Regions from separate parts of the Homo sapiens genome. Here regions 2, 3, 4, 5, 6 and 7 are each linked to region 1. The links are contacts of gene promoters, found by promoter capture Hi-C in blood cells and fetal thymus (Javierre and others, 2016). All regions are on one chromosome and are shown on one strand. The core of a region is centred on a gene start or on the middle of the fragment in contact, and the rest is flanking DNA. Distances in the headings are between cores, read along the strand shown.

Region 1 (2,716 bases), core at 122-2,621:
CCAGCTACCTGGCGCCGGCCAAAGTCAGGGGAGCGGGGAGAGGCGGCGTCACCTCCTCCACGCTCCTCCGGCCCCATTCAATCTAGCTATTTGCACTCGGCTCTGGCTCTTTTCCGCCAGCTGCGGCTGTTCCAGAAGCGCCGGGCTGCCGGTCCTGGCCTCGGCAGGGGCCGTGCGGGACCGAGGGGTGGCGGCCGAGGCATGTGGGGCGGGTGGGTTGCGCGCTGCTGGCACGGCGCGGGGACCCAGCGCGCCAGGCGGGAAAGGGGGGCGGCGGCGGGCGGGGACCCAGACCCGGAGGGGCAGCGGGCGCGTAGCGGGCCCCAGGACGCCCGGCCAGGGGATTGGCCTCTGCACCGCTGCTCAGGGCGCGTCCCTTGCCGCCTCTGGCGTCGACTCAAGCCTCCTCCTCCGAGCAGCCCTCAGTGGCGCCGCCTTAGTGCTCTGGGTCGAGCCCCGGGAGGGTTAGCCTGGGGACGGCAGGGGCGTGACCGTGGCGCGGAAGTAGGTGAGCAGCAGGGCGGCGCGCGGCGGTCAGGCCGGGACAGCCAGAGGGGCAGCGACATCTGCGGGCGGGCGGGCGGGAGGCGGACGCTTCCCGGGCGGAGCAGGGCCCTCCGGAGGACGCAGGCCGCGTCGAGGCTGAAGGGCCTCCCTGTCCGGGACGGTCAGCTGCCAAGTTCGGGCCCTTAGCGCGTGGCCCCGGGCCGCGGCTCGGAGCGGAAGCGTCGCCCCTGGCTGCGCGCTCATGCTGGTCCTAGCGCAGAAGACCCGGCGAGGTCCGCGAATTTTGGCTTAGCGTTTGTCAAGTCACCTCGAGCGACTCGGAGAGAACCCGGCTTTCCCACTAGGGACGGTGATCGCAGTCTCTTTCCTTTAGAAAGTTACTCCGATACTTTTGATCATCTGTCCATAGTAAGGAGGAAAAATAGCGTGGTTTGTCCCCGGGTGAGGGAGTGTTGGAGGATCCCGTCCAGTGGGAAGAGCCAGTTTTAGCGGAGCAGCGCGTCCAGCCCGCTGACACTTCAGCCTGGTAAAGGGTTAACTGCATCCTGCCGGTTCGGTTTACATGTAAATAGAGAGCAGCTGCTCCGCGCGGCCCCGGCTGGCTCTTTTAAGTTTTTGATTGGTTGCCAATGACATCACCGCCCGTGTTTTAACACCGAGGACCCAGAGCAGCTTCGGATAAACCCTCCTTAAAGAGATGAGGCCACGCCTTCTTACCCGCCCCCTAGGCTGCCCATTGGTCGCGGGGCTCTGTGAGGTAGCGGTCGGCTTTCTCCGGATTCTTATTGGCCCAACCCGCCGTCGGTCGGCGGCGAGTCCGCCCCCTCAGAACCTTACATTTACAGTGTAGCAAAAGAGAAAGTAACTATGTTGCTGCTGGAGATCAATGAAGCCGAGTGAATGGGGGCTGAATGTGCGAGTCCATAGCTGAAGAGGAGCGCCAGATGGTGGAGGAATACACTTATTTATGAAGTAAGTGGAAGTCACCGCGACTACTCCTGAGAGCCCGGGACTGGAGGTGGAGGATTGTAAGGCGGTGCTTGTGTGAGTGTGAGTGTGTGTGTTTGTGTGTGTGTATCTGTGTGTGTGTGAGAGAGAGACAGAGACAGAAAGATAGAGATGCGATGCTGACGGAGGAGCTACAGCAGGTAGGGTTATAAGGTTCCGGCCGTTGGCTCCTGCTACCCTGTGCGTTTACTCCCTGCAGTCTACTTGGATTTGGGGCGAAGAAAAAATGAGGTTTGTTGGGATGCTTTGCGGCAGTTTTAAATGCTCGGGGCTCATTAGTGCGCTGTGTGCCGAGGAGTGAAGCGGGGGGCGGGGGGATGTTAAGTGCTCCAGGAATGGGGAAGAAGCATTCTCTAACCACTTAATTTTCTCTCCAGCTCTTGCCTAGTGGTGGAAGGGAGAGGGGATAGCTCAGTATTTCTCTGGGAGATTTTCTGGGCCAGACTGGATGGTTTCACGGGCAGTATGTACGCCCGACCCTCTGCTGCAGGGATGCAGGTCTCTCTATACACTCCGTGTGTGTGTGTGTGAGCCTTGAACTCTGTGTGGAGGTGGGGGTCCCAGCGCGTGTCTCTGTGAACACGCTTATGCGTCCCTCTCAGAAGAAATGGTATGTTGATCCTGGACGTGTCCTACCAGGTAACACAATAGCAAAGACTTTCACCGCTTGGTCCAACCGGGAAACAGTTATAGCTTCTGGAATAGAACTCGCTCTTCAGAAAAAATACTACGCAAGGGAAGGGGGGTTGACTCCTTCGCTCCCATCCAAAGGTGGGTGAGAGAAACCCGAGTCGTTGGAGATCTGCCGACGTGATGGGTGCGTGCCCCGTGTGCGCGCGTGAGTGTGGATTCCGCCTGTGACACTTTGGTTCTGTGTCAGAGAATGGTGACGGTCGTGTGTAGACGGATGAGAATGGTGACGGTCGTGTGTAGACGGATGATAGATGGCATTTTTCCTGATAGCTCTTAAAGTTCGTTTAGGTGAGCGTCTCTTGGCGTGGGGTTTGGCGTCTTTGCTATGTGCATGTCTAATAGAAGAAGAAGAGTTAGCAAGCCTGAGTTGTAGAGTGCCCCTGTGCCTACAGGAGGAAGGAGCTGTCTTTTTGCAGACACTCTGAAATCAGAGATAGATCCGGTGGGCAACAATTCACTGTCCCTTTCAACGAGTACAGGCTAATTGGGAGGTCCTCTTTACGGAATC
Region 2 (2,716 bases), core at 126-2,625, 250 kb before region 1:
GAGGCCAGTTACTTGGGTCTCAAACTGAACAGGAAACACCATCATTTCCATTTTCTGATCACTTTTAGAGTCAGTGCAACTCTAAAAGTCAGTGCAACTCTAGGAAGTGGGTGTACCATCTCACTCTTTCCACATCCTCTTGGCCTCCCTTTGGACTCCATGGGGCTGTAGGATGGTGCTGTGTTGATCTGCACCTCAGTGAAAACACCTCTCTGCCATCAACTTCCAGTTTGTCCCTACAGCTTTCCTGACTCCACAGTGGGCTACCTGGATTTAAGCCCTGCCTTCCCTGAGGTCTGCTGTGCTGGAAACTCTCCTGAGCATCATGACTCAAACCATGCAGCCTAAAAGGACCAGTATATGAGTCAGCTGATTCTCTTCCCCTTTCAGGCAAGCAGTTGATGTCTTAGAACCCTGTTCTTTTTCTAACTAGCATTAGAGGCCTGGTTAAGCGAGAACAGCTCTTTCTTCTGTTAAGAGGATATATATTCGGGAGGGTCCGGAGACATTTGAATCAAGACTCCCTAGTTCCTTCCCAAAGGAGATAAGAATCCCCATTGGGCCTTGAAGCTTTGAGGACCAGGTCTGTTTCTGAAGCATTCTTGTAAAAAGGTACAAACCTTCAGGTCTAGTTTAAATTCATTTCTATTATGTAGCCCCAAAGATCTTGGCTCAGGGGTTACTTTAGACCTCCCGATAGCTCTCAGAATTCCAAGCATATGCCCTATGGGCTTTCCTAGGTCTTCTCCATGTACTGAAATGTCAAAGACAGGGAAGCAAGAGCTTGGCTCATGTCCTCATCATCTCTCTTCTGGGCTACTGCTGTCATTTTTTCACTGGTCTCCTTTCCCCAGTATCATTTCATGAGTGCCTGCAAATGAGTAAATGAATGAACACAATCTCACTCTTTTCTAATTCATCCTTTCCACCAGGGGTCTCCAATCCCTGGGCCATGGACCAGTATCAGTCTATGGCCTGTTAGGAACCAGGCCTCACAGTAGCAGGTGAGAGACAGGCAATCAAGCAAAATTTCATCTGTATTTACAGCTGCTCCTCATCACTGGCATTACCACCTGAGCTCCACCTCCTGTGAGATCAGTGTTGGCATTGGATTCTAATAGAAGCATGAACCCTATTGTGAACTGTGCATGCAAGGGATCTAGGTTGTGTGCTCCTTATGAGACTGTAATGACTGAGGATCTGTCACTGTCTCCCATCACCCCTAGATGGGACCTTGTAGTGCAGAAAAACAGGCTCAGGGCTCCCACTGATTATACATTATGATGAGTTGTAAAATTATTTCATTATATATTACAAGGTAATAATAATAGAAATAAAGTGGACAATAAATGTAATACACTTCATTCATCCCTCCAATCCGGTCTGTGGAAAAATTGTCTTCCACAAACCTGTCCCTGATGTCGAAAATGTTGGGGACCACTGCTTTACACTGTTGTTAAAGAAGCAGCTTTAAAGGGCAAAAATCAAGTCAAGTTGCTCCCATTTCCATAGCTCCTCAGTCCCTAGAGCACAGCAGCCCAGAAGAGCATCTAGAACATTTGGAGTTACCTGTCTTCCAACCTTATGTCCTGAGACTGCCTGTGTCTGCCTTTACGTTGTGACCACTAGTGTAATCCAAACTCTCTGATTTTGTTCTTTTAGCTCCTTCTACTCGGAGAAACTTCCCCTTCACTAATGGGAGACATCTTTGTGATTGTTTAGGGTCCAGGTAAAATTTCACATCTCGAAGAGGGAATGCTATAGAATCCAATACACCTTGGCCTGATCACTGCCCCATCATGTGCTAACTCTGTGGACACAAGGGAATGTATTACTCTCTTCATGCCCAACTTTGCTTAGCTTTATATTGTGGAAAACAATATCTACCTCTTAAGATTAATGTAAGGATTGTTAAAAAATGAACTTAGGCATATTAACATTCTAATGAGTTTGAGCATTCAGCATTTCATGACCTGGGCAGCATTAGACCACAAGTGGTTTGGCACTCCACTGAAGGGGTGCGAAGGGGATACTTTTATACGGTGTTTGTGAAAGAAAGACAGAGGAAGCATTTGATTGGTTAAAATGGAAAGTCCCTAGTTAGAGATTAGTTGGTGGTTTCTGATTGGTAAAGTCCCTAGTTAGAAGCTACTTGGTGATTTCTGATAGGATAAGCTTAAGCTTTGTTTCACTGTTTACATTGAGTTGGGTTTTGGTTTGCTTAGGAAGAGACCCAGGGTGCTGGAGTTTCTGCAGCCTACTGGCCTCCTATTAAGCATTTTCATAGGATAAATACATTTATGTACATAAAGCAACTAGCTTTGTACTTGGCAAAATAGGTGAATAAGCCATTTAATTTTTTATCCCAATAAGCCATAGTTTCCTTTTTCTTCCTTTTTATTCTTTGAAGCCCTTTTCAAACTCTCAGTGGGGGTTAACTCTCCTCTGTGCTGCCATTCTCCAAGGAGCCATTTCTCTTGCTAGATGGTATGCTTCACAGGCCGGTACCTTGTCTTATCTTTTGTATTCCCAGTTCTAGCTCAGTCTCTAGCCCAAGGCAAGTAAGAACTCCATTAAAAAACTGAAATAGTAAATAGCTGATGCATGGGAGCCTCTCCATGGGAAGGTGGAAAAGACAGTGCAGGTGGAATTGTGATCTCCTAGTAGGAAACAAAAGCTATTTTCTATTTACTTCCAAAAGACTTCACTACTCAGC
Region 3 (2,716 bases), core at 140-2,639, 250 kb after region 1:
ATTTTCAAAAGTTAAAATTATGACTCTACCACAAATATGAAATGAATGCACATCACTAGTGTAATTTAGTTCATTCATTAATAAGGAAACCAGTAAAATGTTAAACTGGTTCAATCAGAATATGATATATATATATATACATCAATATATCTGAAGAATACACAAACACACACACACACAATCAGGAATTGTGAAATAAATTTGCCAATAGAAGCAAAACTCTTAATAGCTATAAGACAATACAACTCAAGACTTAGAATAACCTTTTCCACAGGGTAGAAATCAATTGTATTCTGCCAGGAAAAATCATTTGCATTTCTATAAGCAAGAATCATTTATATTATTACATTTTTTTTTACAATTTATGACTTGTAAAATAAGCCTAAATCCTATAGAATGAGATAATCCTAGAGGGTCATCCAGAGAACATCTAATATTCTCATTAAAAACACACTAATATGGTTTGCCTGTGTCTCCACCCAAATCTCACTTTGAATTGTAATAATCCCCATGTGTCAAGGGTGGGGCCAGGTGGAGATAATTGAATAATGGAGGCAGTTTCCCCCATGTGGTTCTTGTCGTAGTGAATAAGTTTCAGGAGATCTGATGGTTTTATAAATGAGAGTTACCCTGCACAAGCTCTCTTGCCTGCTGCCATGTAAGATGTGACTTTCTCCTCTTTTGCCTTCTGCCATGATTGTGAGGTCTCCCTGGCCACGTGGAACTGGCAGTCCATTAAATCTCTTTTTCTTTATAAATTACCCAGTCTCAAGTCTGTCTTTACTAGCAGTGTGAGAACTGACTAATACAACACCCAGTAATCTCTTTTGCCATTTCAAATCATTTACATTTTTTTTCCTACAGAGCAATGGAAAAACTTTTGGAGACTTTTAATCAGGAGAGTAATATGACCTGATTTACATTTTGAAAACATCACCTTTACTGTACAGTTGATCTTTGTATAGCATAGGTTTGAACTGTGCAGGTTCACTTATATGTGGATTTTTTTCAATAAACCTATTGGAAAAATTTTTGGAGATTTTTGACAATTAGAGAAAACTTGCAGATGAACTGCATGGCCTATAAATATCAAAAAAATAAGAAAAAGGTATGTTAGAAATGCATGAAATATATGCAGATACTAGTCTGTTATCATTTATCATATCAAAATATATGCAAATCTATTATAAAAAGTTAAAAAATCAAAACTTGCACACACAAACACAGATCACAGATGGTGCCATTTACAGTACGGAGAAATGTTAAAAAAGTAAACACATATTAAATCATAACTGCATAAAATAACTGTAGCACATACTATACTACTTTTATAATATAATATATGCTTCCTCTCCCACCTCCTCTACCTCTTCCACCTTTATCACCCCTGAGACAGCAAGACCAACCCTCTCCTTTCTCCTGTTCCTCAGACTACTCAATGTGAAGATGATGAGGATGAAGACCTTTATAATGATCCACTTCCACTTAATGAATAGTAAGTATGTTTTCTCTTCTTCATGATTCTCTGAATAACATTTTCTTTTCTCTAGCTTTCTTTATTACAAGAATACAGTATACAATACACATATCATACAAATATGTGTTAATTGACTGTTAATGTCCTCAGTAAGGCTTCTGGTCAATAGTAGGCTATAAGTAGTTAAGTTTTCGGGTCTGGACTCAAGCGATCCTCCCACCTCAGCCTCCTAAGTAGCTGGGACTACAGGCATGCAGTACCATGCCTGGATAATTTTGAATTTTTTTTGTAGAGATAGGGATTTGCCATTTTTCCCAGACTGGTCTCAAATTCCTGGGCTCAAGTGACCTGCCTGCCTTGGCCTCCCCAAAGTAATGGGATTACAGGCATGAGTTGTTTTGGAAGATTCAAAAGTTATACATGGATTTTCAGCTGCACAGGGTGTCAGTGTCCCTAATCCCCTCGTTGTTCAAGGGTCAACTATATTCTTCTTTCAGTCCATTATCATTGACTAATAATAAAATATTGTGTCTTTTTCACTATTATGTTCCCAGTGTCTAGCACAGTTCCTGGCAAAATGATTAATAGCCAGAAAATGTTTGTTAAATGAATGAGAAAACAAACGGACTTTGATATGGTTTGGCTCTTTTCCCCACATAAATCTCATCTCAAATTTTAATTCCCATAATCTCCATGTGTGGAGGGTGGGACCAGGTGGAGGTAATTGAATCATGGGGGCTGTTCCCCCCTGCTGTTCTTGTGATGGTGAGAGTTCTCACGAGATCTGATGGTTTTATAATGGGATCTTCCCCCTTCGCTCAACACTTCTCCTTCCTTTCACCTAGTGAAGGAGGTGCCTTACTTCCTCTTCACCTTTTGTCATGATTGTAAGTTTCCTGAGGCCTCCCAAGCCATGCTGAACTGTGAGTCAATAAACCTTTTTCTTTTATAAATTACCCAGTCTCAGGCAGTTCTTTATAGCAGTATGAAAATGGACTAGTACAGACTTAGTGACTGAAATAATGTGGAAAGTTGAGCAGATGCTGAAGCTATTTACAGAGTAAGAGAATGAGTTGGAGTAGAATTTGAAAGGAAAATAGCACTGCCTTTCTTTAATGCTTTTTGATACCTCTGTGAGAGAGAGATTGGTTAGATCTTCATCGAACCTGCTTCCTCATTGGAACACAGCTGGAATCCATTTCCCAGACTGCCTCATGGTCAGATGTGGCCATGTGACTG
Region 4 (2,716 bases), core at 138-2,637, 220 kb after region 1:
TTTTAAAAATTGTCTCACAATACTATATTGTAAATAACATGCACTGTTGTCTTCCCCGCCATGCCTTTCACACACCCTCTTCCCTAGGCCTGGAATCTTCCTGATATCCCAATATCTAATAATTGAACGCTTGTTTTTCCTATCTCAGCTCAAACAGTATAAACAGTATTTCCTTGAGGAGACTCTCCAGAATAAGTAAGGACTTCCTATTTCCTGATTCTGCCATGTGCTACACTTTTTCTTCATGACCCTAACCATGCTTATATGTTCAGTGTTTCTCTTTCCACTCCCTGGGACCAGGAACAGAGTTGTGTCTCTAGTGTGTAGCACAGTACTGGGCACATAGAAAGAACCCAGACTTTGTGGAATGAACAACCAGAGCAGGCATTTATGCACCCAAGTTACAGATGAAGACAATGAGAACAGCATGCCATAGCTAGTTATGGTCCAAAGAGAATGAGACACACATGGAGAAGGCCTGAACTCAAACTGAAAATTGGAGTCAAGCTCAACAGAGACTAGGCTGGATTACTCAACCTGGAGCTGACCCAAAATTACATGAGTTAGTATAAAAGATGGTTTATTTTAAGCCATTGACTTTTGAGATATTTCTTATACAGCATTACTGTGACAATAACTGACTGATATGGGTGGGTTCTGACAAGTGAGATATTTTGTAGAAAGTATAAAAATTCATTACAGCAGTATCTATTAATGATTAGATTGATCACGGTCAGGGAGTGAGTGTACGGTATGAACAGCATGGTTCAGAAAGATTATAACTAGCCCAAGGCCAAAATGTTGCTAAGTGGCAAGCTTGGGTTCAAACTCCAGTCTTCTGAAAATAATAAACCTTGTTCTACTTTTCCACAGATGCTCCTGTTGAATTCGGCAGCACTCTGGTGATAAAAACCTACTTCTGTGGCTGTTTCTCTGTAAGTCTATGTTAGGATACTTTTGCCTCTGGGATCTTAAGACCTACAGGAGTTGCTCAGGTAATAAGTAAATGCAGGAGCTTTAGGGAAGAAAGAAGGAAGGAAGGGATGAAGGAAGGAAGGAAAGAAGGAAGAAGAAAGGAAGGAAGGAGGAAAGAAGAAAGGAGGGAAGGAAGGAAGGAAGAAAAGAAAGAAGGAAGGAAGGGAGAAAAGAAAAGAAAAAAGAGAAGAAAAGAAAAGCAACTGTCCATCCATGCAGATGAAATATATCCTTTCATTTAGGAAGCAACAAGAGTTATAACAATGTAGTTCTGGATGAACTGTCTGGCTGTGTCCCATCATTCGCATTTGGAAGGTATCATGACTTTGATAAATGCCAGTGAGAAGTCCTGGGTTGATGACTGGATGACACTTTTCCAGATTCATAGTACCAGAGCACATGGGAGTTTAACTGTCCCATAAATACTAGGTGCTATCTCTCCCCTGCTCAGAAAGCTCCCAAATCTGTTCATCTCAATGCTTTGCTGCCTCCTTCAGCACACTGTAGATTTTCCCAGCAATGTTTTGTGGTTCATTTAAGTCACCACTCATGTCCCCAGGCCAAAGCTGGGAGGAGGGAAGAGAGAATAAAAGAGCAACCTATGTATAGTGTTCCAAATGCCCACACACTTGTGCCTACATCAATTGAGCCCTCTTCTTTTGACTGCCTGAGTTGCTCCAGAATTGTGACAGGTGCTGAAAAACATACATTAACCCTTTCATGTCACTGGAAGACACGAGAGTGCCAGGATCAGAGTTTTCAAGGAGTAAAATGTAAACTAGAATCTTCTCACTAGAGTGCTCTTTGGACAGAGAGACGACTTTAAATTTCACATGGGTGAGACACAGAGCTATCACAAGTGATTTGGAGCAACAGTTATCTCAGAGCCTAGTACAGAAACTTCCACAAAGCAGAGACTTAATAAGATTTTGTTGGGCAAATAAATGAATAAACTGCATCTGTGGCACCATAAGATAAGCTTAGAAAATTCTTCCCCACGACCAAGCACTAAAACCCCTCTCCTCCAGCCAGTTGCCTCAACAGTAGCTCTGCCAGGTCTCCATTGAAGACAGAATCTGAGCTCCTTCTGGAAGATCATATAAAAAATATAGACTTCAAAGCCACAAAGGCAATAAATTCTCACTTCAAATCTAATACGTGTTTTAAGCAGGCTGCCTGAAATATAAATATCTGTTTCAAAAATAAACTTGGGTCCTTGAAATATAATCACATTGCTGTGTATAGGAAAAGTGATGGTGCTTTCTTGATAAAGACTGAACTATGCTCATCTCTTCTTGGGAACTCATCCTTTTACCAAGTTATCTACATCTCTCCACATGCAGCATTAGCTGAACTTGAAAGAAAAATATTAAACCAAGATGTCAGGACAATAAATAAGAAATTTAGGGACAAATATAAACCCAGATATTGCCATTAATTTTTTGTACCACAAGTGAATGTTACCTAAACCTAATGTCCTACCTTAAAATTGATTATCACCATCCTGAACTTCCCCCTCAAATATCAATTGTAATAAATAATATATAAATAATATATACAATAATATCATAATGATCAAATGATAATGATTAATAATAATAACTACATGTGTATATATGGCACTTAAGTCTTTCTGAATGGTTTTTTTACATGCCATTCTCCCAAACACTCTGGGATAAGGGAGGTATTTAATGGGTGAATGAAATAAAACTTAGAGATGGTGGCTGATTCATATGTATCT
Region 5 (2,716 bases), core at 67-2,566, 220 kb before region 1:
TGTGACATGCCTGACCACCTATTCCCATCATGGCCTGAACTAGTGTTTCAGGTTTAGTGTTTTAGAAGGCCCTTGGCTGAGAGAAGGGGGTCCATTCAGTTGGTTGAGGGACTTAGAATTTTGTTTTTGGTTTAATGATGGCAATTTGATTTTTTTTTTTTTTTTTTTTTTTTGAGACGGAGTCTCGCTCTGTCGCCCAGGCTGGAGTGCAGTGGCGCGATCTCGGCTCACTGCAAGCTCCGCCTCCCGGGTTCACGCCATTCTCCTGCCTCAGCCTCCCAAGTAGCTGGGACTACAGGCGCCCGCTACCACGCCCGGCTAATTTTTTTTTTGTATTTTTAGTAGAGATGGGGTTTCACCGTGTTAGCCAGGATGGTCTCGATCTCCTGACCTCGTGATCCGCCCGCCTCGGCCTCCCAAAGTGCTGGGATTACAGGCGTGAGCCACCGCGCCCGGCCGGCAATTTGATTTCTATGTCCTAATTTGTTCTCTGAGATAGGGTTTCCACTTGGCTTCTTAATAAGATTCATTTAGTAGTCTCTAATTTGGTTGGAGACATTTCTTTCATTTTAATTCTCAGGAGCATTCTTTCTAGACTATTGGGTATCTCAAATGGCTTAAAATGTCAGGTTTGGGCCACAGTAATGTATTCTCTGTTTTTTTTAATCAGAAAGTGGATGACACGTGTGTGCATGTCAGCAAACTCTCATTATTAAAAAGTTCCCTCTGTCCTTTAGTCTTTGACTGTCATGAGCAAGGAGACCTTTGGCCAGGGTAATAAAGATGACTAATGATGGGGCTCAGGACATACTACCCCAAATATGCCTTTTTGGCCTAAGGATTATTTTGAGCTATTTTGGGAAATAGCAAACACAGAGAAGCTTTGAAAACAAATTAGTTTTGAAAACAGTTATGATTTCATAAGATAAATTTACATCTGTAAAGAAAACCTCCATTGTAAGGGTGTCTCCTTTCTGCATCAGAAAGAAAAGAAGAACTAATTCCCTAGAGAAGGCATCAACTTAAATCTAGTTATCAAATATTATGCTTCTTTAACGGTGCTTTTCCTGGCCAACTTTTCTTTTTCTTTTTTTTTTTTTTTTTTTTTGAGACAGAGTCTTACTCTGTCACCCAGGCCAGAATGCAGTGGCATGATCTTGGCCCACTGCAACCTCTGCCTCCTGGGTTCAAGCAATTCTCCTGCCTCAGCCTCCTGAATAGCTGGGATTACCGGCAACCACCACCACGCCTGGCTAATTTTTGTATTTTTAGTAGAGATGGAGTTTCAACATGTTGGCCAGACTGGTCTCGAACTCCTGACCTTGTGATCTGCCTGCCTCAGCCTCTCAAAGTGCCGAGATTACAGGTGTGAGCCACCATGCCCAGCCATGGCCAACATTTCTTAATTGCATCATTCCCCTCAGCCTTCTCTCTTTGTTTCAGAGAAGGATAGTACTTAAGGGTGAGGTCTAGGATAATTCTTTGAGATCTGCTGCAGAGATTTACTCATTTCTCTGGGTTGTCTCCCATAGGTACACATTTTATCAGAATTCTGTTTGTTTTTCTCTTGTTAATTTGTCTTTTTTACAGAGAAGCTCAGAAAAAACTCATCAAGGTGAAAGAGAAAATTTATTGTTTTCTCCCCTACACTTTCTGGAACTTGGGCTCTGAGGCTGCTCTGGCTTAATCGGTCAAGCATCTGGGTCCTGGGTCTGAGTTCAAATCCTGATCCTTCTTGCTGTGCAAGCTTGGGAGAACGATCTCACCAACCTTGCACAGGTACTGCCCGTTTAAGATGTAGACCATAGTCCCTTTATTACAGGACCTTGTATGGATTAAATGAGTTACTGGGTGAAAAGCGCTGAGAAGAGTGCCTGTCACAGAGTAACTGCTGTTATTGCAAGTAAAGAATCAGAACTATGCTAAATTCACAGTCAGCCTGGGAAAAATGTCAAAAGGAGTGCACATGAATGGTCAATGGACCAAAGACCCTTAGATTTGATAAAGATATGAGCTTTGTGTCTTATTTCCTAATGTTAAGTAAAAATTATGAAAGGCTATTGTTTTGTATTAGGCCCCAACAGACCAGACTAAAAATCAAAATGGAGTCACCCATGCCAAAGTTCCATATCACCAAACTGAAAATAAGTTGTTATTTCATCTTCCCCAAAATCAGGACAGAGCAGTAACAGCCAATGTTCCAAGCAGACCAGTTTCCGTCTTTAATGAGCAGGATAACGAAGTTCCCTCTGTTTTAATCCTTACAACAAAAGTAACCCGACGTAACCTGATGCTAACAAATCTGTTATTTCTCTATTGTTCTGTTTCCTTGTTCTCACCTTGTAAGGGAGGTAACTTTCAAAGGACGAGTCCACATTTTGTTCTTTGCTTCTGGTTTCTTCAACCCCCTCTGTCTATAAAATGAATCCCCTCTGCTCAACTCTTTGGGACACTTATTCTATTTTATGGAATGAGACATTGCCCAATCCTAGAATTGCAATAAAGCTAGTCGAGATCTTCAAACTAAACGTGTAATTTTGTCCTTTGGCAAATCTGGTGACCACAAAGGAAACTGAAGGAGACTGCTGAAAACCCTGAGACCTTCTGAGAAACATAGGAAAAATGCTGTAGTCCCTTTTGGAGGGGCGGGGGTGAAGGGGTTCCTCTGTCTTTCTCATGGAGCTCCAGGAGTCATAAGTAAGTTCCTCTCAGGTTG
Region 6 (2,716 bases), core at 55-2,554, 190 kb after region 1:
CCTGCCACCCAGGAGGACTCCTGAAATTGATTATTCTAAGTCATGGTCGCTCATGAGACAGTTACACCCACTCTGTGCCAGGCATGTTCTGTGTGCTTTATGTACTCAGTTAATCCTTCTAATCATATGAGCTAGCTACTATTAATATTATCATTTTACTTGTAAGAAAACTGAGACATAGAGGGGGTAGGTAACAGAGCTGAGGCCCCTCAGCAAGAAGGATTGGAGCTAGGACTAGGGCTGATGTGTTTCCGGAAGGAGGCCCTGCCCTCTGCATTCCACTGGGTCACATGTGGTGTGAGAGTTTAAGATTCTCCTTGGAACCTTTGGCACATTCTGTATACAAACAATTGCAGAGAGGAGTTGAATAAGGCTCCCTTTGGAAGGAAGCATAGTGATATTCTATCTGGTAGAATCTGCCACATCTTACCTTAATATTCCCACTTTAAGCACCAGCCTGGGACACCTGGTGCCATTTCCCAAAGGGTCACTGTGTAGGCAAAGTAAAGAGATGCCCCAAGAAAGTGATTTGAGGAATTCCAAATCCTTTGTGAACTAAAATATCTACTCCTGTCCTACCATAAGGACCGAACCTCTTACCCATTACAACTATGTGTCTTCAAGAGTACCCATGATTGGACTGGGGTAGTGGTGTGTGCTGAGGGATGGCTGCTTGCCTGGAAGATGATGAGTGTGCTGCTCTTTATGGTGGTGAGAGACAGAACTAGCTGGATTTCCTAGGCCGACTAAGAATCCCTAAGCCTAACTGGGAAGGTGACCACTTCCACCTTTAAACACGGGGCTTGCAACTTAGCTCACATCCGACCAGTCAGATAGTAAAGAGAGCTCACTAAAATGCTAATTAGGCAAAAACAGGAGGTAAAGAAATAGCCGATCATCTATTGCCTGAGAGCACAGCAGGAGGGAAAATGATCGGGATATAAACCCAGGCATTCGAGCCAGCAAAGGCTACCCCTTTTGGGTCCCCTCCCTTTGTATCGGAGCTCCGTTTTCACTCTATTAAATCTTGCAACTGCACTCTCTTTTGGTCTGTGCTTGTTACTGCTCAAGCTGAGCTTTCGCTCGCTGTCCACCACTGCTGTTTGCCGCTGTCACAGACCCGCCACTGACTTCCATCCCTCCAGATCAGGCAGGGTGTCTGCTGCGCTCCTGATCCAGTGAGTCGCCTATGCCACTCCCTATTCAGCTAAAGGCTTGCCCTTCCTGCACGGCTAAGTGCCCAGGTTCATCCTAATCAAACTGAACACTAGTCACTGGGTTCCACCGTTCTCTTCCGTGACCCGCAGCTTCTAATAGAGCTATAACACTCACCGCATGGCCCAAGATTCCATTCTTTGGAATCTGTCAGGCCAAGAACCCCAGGTCAGAGAACACGAGGCTTGCCACCATCTTGGAAGTGGCCCTCCACCATTTTGGAAGCGGCCCGCCACCATCTTGGGAGCTCTGGGAGCAAGGACCCCCGGTAACAGTGGCACAAAGCAAGCATCATCACTAGGCCCCTCCGCAACCTGGTGGTGTCCATCTGCATCATGTTCATCAACAAAAGGATCCCTAACATGAACCTGACCCTGGGGCATCTTGTGGTCACCTGGCTGCGCTTGCACATCTGTCAGAAATTGGTTATATTTGCCTCAACATGTCTGCCACCCCAAGATCCTCCTTCTGGCCTTTAGCTTCTGTGATTACAAGGTCTTCACCAACTTCTCTCTGCAGGGCAACTCCACAGGCGTCCATCAGCTGATCAAGGTCATCATTACACTGGTGATTATGGCCATGCAGACCCTCTGCTACCAGAAGGCCTTCTTCACCAGAATATAACACAACACTGATTCCTGTAACTTTAGGTGTAATCCTAAATTCTTATTACAATGTGAAATGTAATGTCCTTGGAAGGATGTTTTCTGCTCTCAGTGTTTTAGTTATACCCCCTTATCCAGTGTGGGCAGAAACCAAGCAGAATGAGTTTCAAGTAAACTCAATGCTGCTGCAGCACTATCAAGCACCAATACCTTCTGCTGTTATTGGTTGCTTCTCTGAGTCAGTGCATGGAGAGCAAGAAATATCTAGTCTCTGGTCAGCTTCTGCTTTGCCTATGGTGCAGCTATCTGAAATAATGGTTGTCATGGTGAACTTATCAATTCACTGGGTCACTAGGTACACTTCATCAGTCACCTATGACATGTTTGGGCACTTCAAGTTCTGACTTGCTTTATTTGGAGGACATGTGTTATTTAAAGATCCACTGTTAATTAACCAGAGTCTTGGCATTTTATGTAGTTATTTGGTGTAAGAATAAGAGCTTATATTCATTCTGTACTCTATAAACAGGAAGGAAGAAAATGTAAATTGCTACAAAGTACTCAACTGGGTTTTTATGATGAAAAGAAAGTCACCTCAAGAAGATACAAATCGTTAAATAAGCCAATTACTTTCAAAGAAGTAAAAAAATTGCATGTACAATTTATTGAATGGTAGTTTGCAAGATGTAATAGAAAAGATATTTTATTCTAAAATGAAATCTTCATTTTTAGCATACTTTTTGTAACTTAATCCTTTAAAACTAAAATTGTTCATGCTTCTTTTCAAATATGATTGTATAAATTATAGCCACCCCTGTACTACATTACATTCATATATTTACTTACTAACACACAGTCTTATTCTTACCTGGTGTCAGGCTCTATTCGGGACACAG
Region 7 (2,716 bases), core at 110-2,609, 200 kb before region 1:
AGCAGTATTTTATGAAAAGAAAGTCATAGCAGTGTGCTGGCAGGCAGACTCTACAGATGGGGAGGGGACTGGGAACTGGACCAAGGCTAAGTGGCAATCTGGTTGACAACAGAGAAGAGTCTGGGGGGAAGCAACTAGCTCTCGTAGTGGTTTATGACATCAGTCACCACCAGCAGGGGCTGCCAGCTGGTGCAATACCAGGGACCCAAGCAGGTGGGTGAAGCCAATAATGAGAAAGCATGCAGGAGACACTTGCAAATTCAGACCACAGGCTGGCAGCTCTTGGGTAGTGAAGCCTGGCCACTGGGCTGATATTCAGAACAAGAATTTAGAAGGTAGAATTAACACCTGAAACTGAAGCATGTGGAAGCATTTGGCGAAAGAATTGCTGTTTGAAAAGAGGCTAAACTGCAGCTGGAAACTTGGCATGGAAGCCCAAAAGCCCTGGGTCTCAAGTCTGTGTAACGTGGAGGTGGGCTGAGATGATTTCAACACCTTCTGCTTCAAATTCCCATTTGCTGGTAACTAGGAAGGCTGTGCTATGGGAAGGTTGAAGAGGACAGCTGCAGGTGACAAGAGGTGGGGCCAGTACGGATTATGGTGGAAATCTATGTTTACCATTAAACAGAGGCTGGAACTAGTTAACTCTGAGGAAAAGTCAGGAAGTAACCACACACTTAGTCTGCATAGTTGTTGCGTTCAGATTGTTTTGGAGTGAACATAAGGCACCAAGATTTAGTGAATGAAAGATGAGACAAAGAGTCAAAATGCTGGAACTTAACAGACTCATTTCTATCAGTGGTCTTGGCATGGACAAGGCACTGAATCTCTCTAAGAGGCAGTGTCATTATCTATAAAAGTGTATCTGCCTTGTTGTCCTCAATTCCCCAAACATTAATCTGTGCCAAATGTGATGCTAGGGACAAAGATGAGGAATGAGTGGCCCCTACCTTGGGGAGGCCACAGTCTTCCAGTCTCCCAAGAGACAGCAGGAGAAATAGAAAAGGATGAGGCATTGACACGTACTGTGTTCCAGACTCGGTGCTTCACACATGTGATCTCATTTAAATATTTTATAAAGTGATCGGGCAGGTATTATTATTTCCTCTCTCAAGGATGAAGCGATGAAGGCTCAAAGAAGGATTCCAAGGTCATCATTTGGGTAAATGGGGAAGCCATGTCTTGAGCCCAGGTATGTCATCCCTTAAATCCCAGGATTTTCCCAACATCCCCCACTGTTCAGGAGAGAGAGAGATGGGTAAAAAACTCACCTTATATGTTTGAAGGCCAGCATCGATTGGAACCCAGGGAGGAGGCAGAAATGTTTTTTCTGAGTTTAAAAAATGTTGACATATGGGGGAAGATGAAAAAGGGCATTTAGGAAATTCAGGTAGTATGATTTGTGTGACAGTGGATTTTCTTCAGCTGCAGACAGAATCTGAGGGTGTGAAATTGCAAAGGTAACCTTCTCATCCTATATAGCCTTTCCCACTAAGGAGTCTGGGCACATGCAAGCTGTGTGCAAAAGCATCATCTATCCCTGGGGAGATGAAAGGGTGGCCTTAATGGGACAGGAGGAAAATCAATAATGTATCACTTTGGAGCAAGGAGCTGGGTGACCAAGCACAAAATGTCAGCAGCCTGACAAGGCAAAGGCAGCCTTGGCCTGGGGCAACTGATATTGATTGTAATAAGCCCAAAACAATTAGCTTATGAATCTGCCTCCCAACTACTTTGCGTTCCTTCTCAAAATACGTACTTTTAGATCCACAATGAACCATTGCCCCCTGGAAGGCTGGTTCTGCTATTTGGAAGGACATGAAGAGTCATGCCACATGGCTGTTAGCTCCTCATCACACAGGGTTTGGCAAAAGGAAGAAGGGGTTTTAGAATGTCTGAGGCCTACAGGATCACAGGCAGGGTCATACAAATGACAAACAACATTGTACTGGCATTGAACTTAAATTCTAGAGTCCTGAGTGTTAGTTCTAGAGAAGTCATTAATTTGACGTGTAACTTTGAGAAAGTCACTTTACCTCTCTGGGCCTGTTTCCTTGCCTTTAAAATGAAAGGAATAAGCTAAAAATGTTCTTTATATGGCTTGTTTTGGTAGATGCATACTTTTGGGGTGTGTTTGTGTGTCTGCGTTTGCATGTGTGTTCTCTCTGAGGGATCACAACTAAGAATCGTTGACTCTATCCCTCCTTGGCTCATAGAATGTCCCTTGCACAATTTTGTGCGTAGGAATGTGCTGGATGCCTGAGATACAATATACACGTGATAGTTAATGTTATGTGCCAATTTGGTTGGGTAACAAGTGCACAGATATTTGGTCAAACATTATTCTAAGTGTGTCTGTGAGGGTGTTTCTGGATGAGATTAGCACTGGAATCAGTAGACTGAGTGAAGTAGATGGGCTCCCTGTGTGGGTGGGCCACATCCAATCACTTTAAGTCCTGATGAGAACATAAAAGTTGACCCCTTTTTGAGTAAAAGGGAACTCCTACTTGACTGCCTTCTGGCTGGGACGTTATTTCTTTTTTCAGCCTTCGTACTGGCACTGCAACATTGAACATTCTAATTCTCAGACCTTCAAACTCAGACTGAAACTATACCATTGGCTTTTCTCCAGCTTGCTAACTGCAGATTTGGGGACTTTTCAGCCTCCAAAATCATGTGAGCCAACTCGTTATAGTAAATCACCTCTCTCTTTCTA

Evidence for each region. Contacts are between HindIII fragments. The CHiCAGO score rates a contact against its expected background, and 5 or more counts as called.
Region 2: a fragment that was not itself captured here is called in contact with the fragment with the promoter of DUSP10 in region 1 in 3 of 17 cell types (M0 macrophages, M1 macrophages and M2 macrophages); the score reaches 6.7 in M0 macrophages.
Region 3: a fragment that was not itself captured here is called in contact with the fragment with the promoter of DUSP10 in region 1 in 1 of 17 cell types (naive CD4 T cells); the score reaches 5.5 in naive CD4 T cells.
Region 4: a contact is called between a fragment that was not itself captured here and the fragment with the promoter of DUSP10 in region 1, in 1 of 17 cell types (total CD8 T cells). The highest score is 6.9, in total CD8 T cells.
Region 5: a contact is called between a fragment that was not itself captured here and the fragment with the promoter of DUSP10 in region 1, in 1 of 17 cell types (M0 macrophages). The highest score is 6.5, in M0 macrophages.
Region 6: a fragment that was not itself captured here is called in contact with the fragment with the promoter of DUSP10 in region 1 in 2 of 17 cell types (M0 macrophages and M2 macrophages); the score reaches 5.9 in M0 macrophages.
Region 7: a contact is called between a fragment that was not itself captured here and the fragment with the promoter of DUSP10 in region 1, in 1 of 17 cell types (total B cells). The highest score is 6.3, in total B cells.

Annotation. Positions count from the first base shown.
Region 1 is chr1:221,740,744-221,743,459 of GRCh38, reverse strand. DUSP10 (dual specificity phosphatase 10) reads left to right here and starts at 1,371. Exons shown (of 4, transcript NM_007207.6): 1 at 1,371-1,479. RefSeq lists silencers at 135-614, 2,335-2,384 and enhancers at 388-1,025, 835-1,034, 1,365-1,554, 1,026-1,663, 1,664-2,301 and 1 more. The HindIII fragment of the contact is 7,400 bases long and covers 1-2,716 here.
Region 2 is chr1:221,991,976-221,994,691 of GRCh38, reverse strand. No RefSeq gene overlaps it. Among named protein-coding and RNA genes, the nearest start is that of LINC02257, 15 kb to the right of the region's middle. RefSeq lists an enhancer at 2,204-2,253. The HindIII fragment of the contact is 1,605 bases long and covers 573-2,177 here.
Region 3 is chr1:221,491,041-221,493,756 of GRCh38, reverse strand. LOC105372934 (a long non-coding RNA gene) reads left to right here. Exons shown (of 3, transcript XR_922622.2): 3 at 1,431-1,469. Among named protein-coding and RNA genes, the nearest start is that of LINC02817, 160 kb to the right of the region's middle. The HindIII fragment of the contact is 3,246 bases long and covers 1-2,716 here.
Region 4 is chr1:221,518,833-221,521,548 of GRCh38, reverse strand. No RefSeq gene overlaps it. Among named protein-coding and RNA genes, the nearest start is that of LINC02817, 180 kb to the right of the region's middle. The HindIII fragment of the contact is 1,138 bases long and covers 819-1,956 here.
Region 5 is chr1:221,961,994-221,964,709 of GRCh38, reverse strand. All of the region lies in intron 1 of LINC02257 (long intergenic non-protein coding RNA 2257), which reads left to right. Among named protein-coding and RNA genes, the nearest start is that of LINC02474, 3.1 kb to the left of the region's middle. The HindIII fragment of the contact is 866 bases long and covers 884-1,749 here.
Region 6 is chr1:221,549,448-221,552,163 of GRCh38, reverse strand. LOC107985462 (a long non-coding RNA gene) reads right to left here. Exons shown (of 2, transcript XR_001737823.1): 1 at 2,689-2,716. It also overlaps the pseudogene LOC100132179. Among named protein-coding and RNA genes, the nearest start is that of DUSP10, 190 kb to the left of the region's middle. The HindIII fragment of the contact is 5,088 bases long and covers 1-2,716 here.
Region 7 is chr1:221,937,270-221,939,985 of GRCh38, reverse strand. The region is part of intron 1 of LINC02257 (long intergenic non-protein coding RNA 2257); the gene reads left to right. Among named protein-coding and RNA genes, the nearest start is that of LINC02474, 28 kb to the left of the region's middle. RefSeq lists an enhancer at 317-496. The HindIII fragment of the contact is 3,460 bases long and covers 1-2,716 here.